Linked DNA regions of Homo sapiens: all the other regions are linked to region 2. The links are contacts of gene promoters, found by promoter capture Hi-C in blood cells and fetal thymus (Javierre and others, 2016). All regions are on one chromosome and are shown on one strand. Each heading gives the region's core, a stretch centred on a gene start or on the middle of the fragment in contact. The rest is flanking DNA. Distances are from core to core; before and after follow the strand shown. Region 1 holds the start of DIABLO (diablo IAP-binding mitochondrial protein). Region 2 holds the start of GCN1 (GCN1 activator of EIF2AK4). Region 3 overlaps KNTC1 (kinetochore associated 1).

Region 1 (2,840 bases), core at 221-2,720, 2.0 Mb before region 2:
ACGCGGAGGTTGTAATTGGTCTCTAGACCACACCTAGTTGTTGAGTGCCGCTGCTTGAAAATCTCAGTTCTGCCGAGATCGCAGAATACACACAAGCTACCTTTGGGCACCAGAGCAGACAGAACCGCGGAGCTTCAGGGTGGAAGATTCGTGGAAACTTTGCCAAGTAAGTGAGGTGGGGAGAGAAGGAAGCCAGTGCCTGACACTGTGGGGAGTGGCTGGGCAAAGCAGCATTGGAGGTGTTGTAGGGTTCCTACTGTCTGATGAGCTGGTGTGGGGTTCTTACTGTCTGATGTCGTCTCTGGTGGAAGTTAGCAGGGCTGGGGCAGATGCACAGAGCACGGTGGCGGGGGTGAGCCCAGGATCGGATTGATGCCCACCCACCACCTGGCACCCTGCAGTCCCAGCTGGCCAGAAGGCAAGCATGCTGGACCACAAAGCAAAGATCCTCCAGCTCTGCTGCTGGCAAGCCTTGGGGCCAGGGGACTCACAGAAGAGCAGGTTTGGGCCTGTGCCTTCCTCCTGCCCAAATGGGTCTCTCTCCCCTTCCCCTTCCAGCCAGGGCCGCAGCTGGGGCTGCAGCTTGAGTGACGGGAAAAGAAAGGTTTACTCCACCAGCGCATTAGCGGCACTCACAGCATTAAAAATGCAGGAGGTGGTGGGAGGAGCGGGCCAGGGAGGAAAACTCATGCAGCTGCGGGGCGCGGGGAAGAGCCGGGCTTCTGCCTCCTCAGCCCGGATCAGAGCCGAAGAACGAGGGCAGTTTGGGTTGAGAAGGATTCTCCAGTGTAACCGAGAAGCGAGCGTCCAGGAGGCTGTTGGGGAGGTCGGCACTGTGGGCTTCCTGGCCTTCGTTTGCTGTTTCGAGGGCCAGGACCTCGTGTGTTCCCGTCCGCCCCTCTGGGACGGCGCCAGCCCGGCAGGCCGCCGACCGTCCTGGGGCTCCCGCGCAGCGCGATGCCGGCCTCGTCCACCGTCCACGTGCTGCAGCTGCTGCGGGAGCTGCTCGCCTTCGTGCTCCTCAGCTACACGGTGCTCATCGGGGCGCTGCTGCTGGCCGGCTGGACCACTTACTTCCTGGTGCTGAAGTGACAGCGCCGTCGCCGCGCCCGGCCCCGCCTCCCGCCCGGCCCCGCCTCCCGCCCGGCCCCGCCTCCCTAACTCACCAGGAAATTCCCTTCAAGCCCTGGCCCGAACTGAGTCCCCGCCCACCCGCCAGCGTCACGGCGCCCGACTCAGCTCCGCGCCGGACCCACCTCCGCGCCCTCAGGCCCTGCATATGCCCCGCCCCGCGCGGAAGTTCCGGCGGTTGGTTGCCTTGCGCGGCCGTTACAGCCTTTGCCCTAAGCCTCGCCCCCTTTCCCCCTGCCTGCCCAATCCCGACTGCTTCCTTGGGTGGGGGCGTGGCTATGGGGCGAGGCGCTCTCAGGTGGAGGCCGTGCCCCGCTCCGCGCTCACGAAGCTGCGTCACTTCCGGCGTGTGCGTCTGGCGTCCGCGCGCTGCACAATGGCGGCTCTGAAGAGTTGGCTGTCGCGCAGCGTAACTTCATTCTTCAGGTACCGCTGCGGCCGCGTAGAGGGGACAGGACCAGAGGGAGGGACCGACGCGGACAGCGCTGTGGCCCGGCCCACGGCGCCCGCCTTCCTTACGCGCTCATCTCTCGTCCGCCCAGCTGGGTCGCGGCGTCTCGCTCCGGTCGGGAGGACTGAGGACAGCCCCGCCTCCGCCCCCTGGGTCAAGCCCGGCTTCCTTTTCAGTTCGTCCATCTTCTAGAAACGAGTCCCCGAGACCCCGGGCTGCCTTCTTGGGGCTGCTCCGCCTCCTGACCAGCCCTCGTCAGCCACTCGAAGTCCCTGAGGAGACGTGGAGAGGAGGAGGGACACGGCATGGGGGGAGTCCGGGAAGGGAGACGAGCGTCTGAAGACGTCCTCCCGAGGGCAGAAGGGGCCGGGGGAGCTGGCGCAGGGCTCTCTACCTAGCGCTGCAGGCTCCTGGGCGATTGTAGCGGGACCGTCACACACAACTGGCACCCAGGCCAGGGGTCCAGAGCTAAATTCTGCCTGCAGGAGCGGTTATTGTGGCATCCGTTTCTAAAAAGTTTAAAGGCAACATTTTATTTTATTTTAATTTTTTTGAGACAAGATCTGCCTCTGTCGCCCAGGCTGGAGTGCAGTGGCGAGATCTCAGCTCACTGCAACCTGTGCCTCCCGGCTTCAAGCGATTCTCAGCCTCAGCCTCCCGAGTAGCTGGGATTGCAGGCGCCCGCCACCACGCCCGGCTAATTTTTTTTTTTCTTTTTGTTTTGTTTGAGACTCAGTCTCGCTCTGTTGCCCAGGCTGAAGTGCAGTGGGGCGCTCTCGGCTCACTGCAACCTCTGCCTCCCAGGTTCAAGCGATTCTCCTGCCTCAGCCTCCCGAGTAGCTGGGATTACAGGAGCGTGCCACCACTCCGGGCTAATTTTTGTGTTTTAAGTAGAGATGGGGTTTCACCATGTTGGTCAGGCAGATTTCGAATTCCTGACCTCAAGTGATCCACCCGCCTCGGCCTTTATTTACTTATTTTTTTTTAATAGACACGGGGTCATGTTGCCAGCCATGTTGCCCAGGCTGGTCGTGAACTCCTGGGCTCAAGTGATCCTCCCGCCTTGCCCTTGGCCTTCCAAGTGCTAGGATTACAGGCGTGAGCCACCAACACCCTGCCTGAGGCAACATTTTAAACTTGGTGTATGTTGAAAATTTCAAAACCCCTCAGCTGTCCTGCATCCTCATTTAGGTTCCTGCTTGGCTCGAGTTTGAGTTTACAGCCCCTGCAAGTAAATCCAAGAGCCTGTTACAGATTG
Region 2 (2,700 bases), core at 75-2,574:
GGCTCACTGCAACCTCCGCCTCCTGGGTTCAAGTGATTCTCCTGCCTCAGCCTCCCAAGTAGCTGCAATTACCGGAGGCTGCCACCACACCGGGCTAATTTTTTTGTTGTTGAGACAGTCTCGTCCTGTCACCCAGACTGGAGTGCAATGGTATGGTCTCAGCTCACTGCAACCTCTGCCTCTCGGGTTCAAGCGGTTCTCCCACCTCAGCCTCCCCAGTAGCTGGGACTACAGGCATGTGCCACCACTCGGCTAATTTTTGTACTTTTAGTAGAGACGGGGTTTCACTATGTTGGCCAGGCTGGTCTGGAACTCCTGACCTTGTGATCTGCCCGCCCTGTCCTCCCGAAGCGCTGGAATTATACAAGGGTGAGCCACCGCACCCGGCCTTTTTTTTTTTTTTTTTTTTTTTTGGTATTTTTAGTAGAGACAAGGTTTTGTCATGTTGACCAGGCTGGTCTGGAAATCCTAACATCAGGTTGATCTACCCACCTCAGCCTCCCAAAGTGCTGGGATTACAGGCGTGAGCCACCATGCCTGGCCCCAGTATTTAAAGAGAAAGCAGCATCTGCTGAGAATAGGTGTTTTTGTTGTGATTCCTGTATTTCACTTAGAGATCTGTCTGCTGGAACATGATATATTCATTCTAACTAGGTCTGTGTCAAAGGTTTGAAAGCCACTGCTAACAGGGCTGACAACTAAGCTGTGGAGACCCTGTTCCCTAAATTGCAGCCACGTCTGCACGTAGCCTCTTGCCCTGTGGCCTTCAAAACTCCCAGCCTGGGGCGTCCAGCATTTCCCCAGGGCAGGGGCCTCGTTCAGTTCTGAACCTTCCCTGACCTCCGTATCCAGCCACGTTTGCTAACCCTGTACAAGTCATCCGCCAACTGAACTACAAACTGAGGACAAAAGACTAGTTCACCGACTCTTTTACCTAGTTTTTAGTTCCTGCTATCTAGGAAGCAACACTTGTTTTTCTAAAGAACTTAGTCATCACTCAGGAAAGGCCCACGTAGGGCTGGCCCTGCGGGCTGGAAGTGGGTCAGGGGCTGCAAGGCGGGCCCATAGCGTTACACCGCGGGCTCACCACGTTACAAGCGCTAGTCTCCCACGAGGCGCCCGGGGCTGAAGAGCGGGCCCTGGGGAGGAGGCCTTGTGGCTCGGGCGCGGGCCAACTTTAAGCCCGTGATCCGGCTGCCCGGGCTGCAGCGGCCGCCGTCCTGCCCGGGGGCACCAAGCCCGGGGCCCTGCCCCCGCTGGCTCCCGGCCTCGCCCTGCCGCGTGGGCCACGCTGTGACCCGGAAGCGTTCCGGAAGCGGTTCCGGAGTCAGCCCCGGCAGGATGGCGGCGGACACGCAGGTGAGGCGGGCGGCTGCGGGGCCAACGCGGCCAGGGACTGGGTGCGGACGGTGGCCGTCGGGCGGGGCCCCTCTCGCTCCTCGGCTTAGGGGCGTTGGAGGTGGTGGCTGTGGAGGTCGTAGTCTCGGGGCCGTCTCAGGCTGGACTCTCAGGGCTGCGGGCTTGGCCCGGCCCGGGCGGCGCAGGCAGACCGCGGGCTCGAGGAGTCCGGGGCTCCCGCCTCGACTTCAGCAGCTGGAGCTCGGCGGGGCCTTTGCCCGACCCCAGAGTTGCAGAAGTTCACTTTACCGAGCCTCTACTTCTTTTCTCCAAAGCCCTCCGGCTGTGAGCCCCGGGCCAACGCCAAGTCTTCCTTAAACTTTGTATTCAGCAAATATTCTTTGAGCACCTACTATGAGCAGGGACTTTGAGTGTAGTCTTTGGATTCATACAGATCTGGGCTTGAGTTCCTGCTCGTCGATTTCTGTGACATGCCAAACAAGTGACTTAACCCCGCCAAGTCTGCCTTTTCATCTATAAAATGAAGTTAAAACAATACTTATCTTAAAAGGTTGTTGTGAAGGTTCAGTGAGATAAAATACGGCTTGATATATGTTGGTTGTTATCAGATCCAGGGTTAGTGAAAAGAACTGTCCTGTCCAGGAAGAGTGTTACCTATGGGTACCTTGTAGTTCAGGAAGGACCTGGGAAAACCTTTTCCTCCACCCAGTTGTTATGTTTTAAGGTGAAAAGACATTGTCATGAGGCAGGGGAAGAACAGGTGTCTAAGGACAGCTGGGCTGATTTGGTGTCTCCAGGGTGATGGGATTGATTTTTATGTGTAGGCCCAGAAAATGACCACTTAAGCATTCAAAAAGACATTTACTGAGACTCCTATGCAGGTGGCTGATGTTCAAGTTATGTTGTACTGAATACTAGAAAGAAAAGCTTAGTATGAGAGGGTTAGGGGAATACATGCTGAATGTTTAACATTGATACTCACTTGAGGGAAAAATCTCTAGAGCTGCAATGTCCAGTATGGCAGCCACATGGCTTAAGTTTGTTAAAATTAAATTAAATAAAAAAATTCATTGTTTGGCTGGGCGTGGTGGCTCACCCTGTAATCCCAGCACTTTGGGAGGCCAAGGCGGGTGGATCAGTTGAGGTCAGGAGTTTGAGACTAGTCTGACCAACGTGGCAAAACCCCGTCTCTACTAAAAATGCAAAAAATTAACCGGGTATGGTGGCATGTCTGTAATTCCAGCTACTCAGGAGGCTGAGGCATGAGAATCGCTTGAACCTGGGAGGCAGAGGTTGCAGTGAGCTGAGATCGCACCACTGCGCTCCAGCCTGAGCAACAAG
Region 3 (2,955 bases), core at 218-2,717, 2.3 Mb before region 2:
AACGAATTCACGTAAAGGGCTTATGAGAGAGCCCTGCACATAGTATATGCTCAATAAATGTTAACCAGTCCTATTCTTCCCTGACAAAATACAGCTAATCACCTCATTTTATGACTATTTCAAAAGTCATCTTCTCCAGGTGTAATCCTTGAAAATTCCCCAACATTCTGATCCCTCTTCTACCTTATTTTTTTCTTTATTTTGAGACAGGGTCTCCCTCTGTCGCTCAGGTTGGAATGCAGTGATGCCATCATAACTCACTGCAGCCTTAAACACCTGGGCTCAAGGGATCTTCGTGCCTCCCCAACCCAAGTAGCTGGGACTACACATGCACACCATCACACCTGGCTAATTTTCTTTTTCTTTTATAGAGACGGGGTTTTCACTGTGTTGGCCAGGCTGGTCTAGAACTCCTGGACTCAAACGATCCTTCCATCCCAACCACCCAAAGTGCCGGGAATACAAATGTGAGGCACTGCGCCCAGCCTCCTTCTTATCTTTTTACTTGCTTCTTCAACTAGTAAAAGGTTACATGAAGGCACTGCCAACAAGGAATGGCACTAAAATTAGCCGGGCGTGGTGGCGGACGCATGTAATCCCAGCTACTGGGGAGGCTGAGGCACGAGAATCACTTGAACCCGAGAGGCAGAGGTTGCAGTGAGCCAAGATCACACCACTGCACTCCAGCCTGGGCAACAGAGCAAGACTCTGCCTCAAAAAAAAAAAAAAGAAAAGGAACGGCACTATATCTTCTAGGGATCTGTCCACACTGTTCTCTCTAGACTCTTCTCTCTAGACTGTTCTCCTTCTTAAGGCCCAAAGCAAGTGTAGTTTATTTTAATTTTTATTTTTTTTAGAGATGTTGTCTCCCTATGTTGCCCAGGCTGGCCTCAAACTCCTGGGCTCACGCCATTCTCCTGCCTCAGCCTGAGTAGCTGGGACTACAGGACATGCCACCACACCGGGCTCACACATAGTTTCTTAAGGAAATGCTCCTTAAACTGCCCAACCGACAATGAGCTCTCCAGCCACTGAATTCCTACTCATTTACTGTCTGTACTGTTCATTTGGCATTTAGCATATACTGACTTGCACAGCTAAGCATCTTTTATTGTTTGTGTCCTGTGTGCCTAACTTTAAGGTAAGATCCTAAAAGGAATGAATAAGATGCCATCTTATGTCCAAGTTCCTAATATTGGGCTCAGAACATAGCAGATGTTCAAAACATGTTGGTAAGTGTATGCCACGTGCTAATAATAGATAGAATTTTAGTTCCTACCAGAATCCAAGATTCTATACACATGCACTATTATTTTTCAACAGCAACCTTGAGGTCAAGAAAGGCCTGAGCCACTTCCACGTTTTAAGGCTCCTGATAATATTAAAAAATAAAGCCCGGGCACAGTGATTCACACCTGTAATCCCAGAACTTTGGGAGGCCGAGGTGGGTGGATCACAAGGTCAAGAGATCGAGACCATCCTGCTCAACATGGTGAAGCCTCATCTCTACTAAAAACACAAAAATTAGCTGGGTGTGGTGGCTCGTGTCTGTATTCCCAGTTACTCGGGAGGGTGAGGCAGAAGAATCGCTTGAACCCAGGAGGCGGAGGTTGCAATGAGCCAAGATCACGCCACTGCACTCCAGCCTGGTGACAGAGCAAGAGTTCGTCTCAAAAAAAAAAAAAAAAAAAAAGAAAAATTAGCCAGGCGTGGTGGCAGGCGCCTATAATCCCAGCTACTCCAGAGGCTGAGGCAGGAGAATCACTTGAATCCAGGAGTGGGAGGTTGTAATGAGTCAATATCACATCACTGTACTCCAGCCTGGGCTACAGAGTGAGAGTCTCTCTTAAAAAAAAAAAAAACAAATGGCCGGGTGCGGTGGCTCAAGCCTGTAATCCCAGCACTTTGGGAGGCCGAGCCGGGCGGATCACGAGGTCAGGAGATCGAGACCATCCTGGCTAACATGGTGAAACCCCGTCTCTACTAAAAATACAAAAAATTAGCTGGGCATAGTGGCGGGCGCCTGTAGTCCCAGCTACTTGAGAGGCTGAGGCAGGAGAATGGCGTGAACCTGGGAGGCAGAGCTTGCAGTGAGCTGAGATCATGCCACTGTACTCCAGCCTGGGCGACAGAGCAAGACTCCATCTCAAACAAACGAACAAAAATACTAAAAAATAGACGTCATTTCCTCATTATAGAAACTGTGCTTTCAGATGTCTCGAAGGATTCAAAAAATTTAAAAAAAAGAAATGCTGCACTTGAAATTTTTGCCTCTAATAAATAATGACAAAAAATACAATGAGATTTGTACTACTCATAATTAATGTTTATCTTATACTAATTATCTTATTGTTGGATTATACTGCCTTTAACATGATTCATGGTACATTTAAAGCGGTACAAATCAGGCACAGTGACTCATGCCTTTAATCCCAGCACTTTGGGAGGCCAAGGCAGGCGGATCACTTGAGGCCAGGAGTTCAAGACCAGCCTGGGCAACCCCATCTCTACTAAAAATACGAAAATTTTTAGTAGCATGGTGGCACACACCTGTAATCCCAGCTACTTGGGAAATTGAGACAGGAGAATTTTTTGAACCCAGGAGGCAGAGGTTGCAGTGAGCCGAGCCGAGATAGCACCACAGCAAGAAAAAGCAGCACAGTTCCACAGACACCAGCTTAAAGCTGCATAAAGAATGATTTCTTTTTAAAATCCCATCAGCCAGTTTAAAAAAAAAAGTCAAAAGCATACATTTAATTCCCTTTAGGAATAACGTCCACAGTGGATGCCCTGCCTTATCTGTCAGATTCCATTTGAGTGAAAAAAAATTTCTTTTATTAAAAAAAAAAAAGAATTAAATACCAGCCTCCCAAGTAGCTGGGACTACATGTGCATGCCACCACACCCAGCTAATAGTACCTTCTATAGAATGCAAAGAATAAGGTTTCAGGCATG

What was found. The method cuts DNA at HindIII sites, captures the fragments that hold promoters and counts their contacts. A CHiCAGO score of 5 or more calls a contact.
Region 1: a contact is called between the fragment with the promoter of DIABLO here and the fragment with the promoter of GCN1 in region 2, in 1 of 17 cell types (monocytes). The highest score is 9.2, in monocytes.
Region 3: a contact is called between a fragment that was not itself captured here and the fragment with the promoter of GCN1 in region 2, in 1 of 17 cell types (monocytes). The highest score is 5.2, in monocytes.

Annotation. Positions count from the first base shown.
Region 1 is chr12:122,224,682-122,227,521 of GRCh38, reverse strand. DIABLO (diablo IAP-binding mitochondrial protein) reads left to right here and starts at 1,470. Exons shown (of 6, transcript NM_001371333.1): 1 at 1,470-1,557. The coding sequence starts at 1,508. LOC128125816 reads left to right here and starts at 958. Exons shown (of 1, transcript NM_001414998.1): 1 at 958-1,092. The coding sequence starts at 958. The coding sequence ends at 1,092. LOC101593348 (a long non-coding RNA gene) reads right to left here and starts at 1,080. Exons shown (of 1, transcript NR_103497.1): 1 at 1-1,080. RefSeq lists enhancers at 1-324, 325-1,156, 1,106-1,400, 1,454-1,693, 1,704-1,753 and 1 more and a silencer at 1,024-1,163. The HindIII fragment of the contact is 3,750 bases long and covers 1-2,840 here.
Region 2 is chr12:120,193,339-120,196,038 of GRCh38, reverse strand. GCN1 (GCN1 activator of EIF2AK4) reads left to right here and starts at 1,324. Exons shown (of 58, transcript NM_006836.2): 1 at 1,324-1,359. The coding sequence starts at 1,342. RefSeq lists a silencer at 1,027-1,616. The HindIII fragment of the contact is 5,843 bases long and covers 1-2,288 here.
Region 3 is chr12:122,530,945-122,533,899 of GRCh38, reverse strand. All of the region lies in intron 2 of KNTC1 (kinetochore associated 1), which reads right to left. Among named protein-coding and RNA genes, the nearest start is that of KNTC1, 5.2 kb to the right of the region's middle. The HindIII fragment of the contact is 4,966 bases long and covers 1-2,955 here.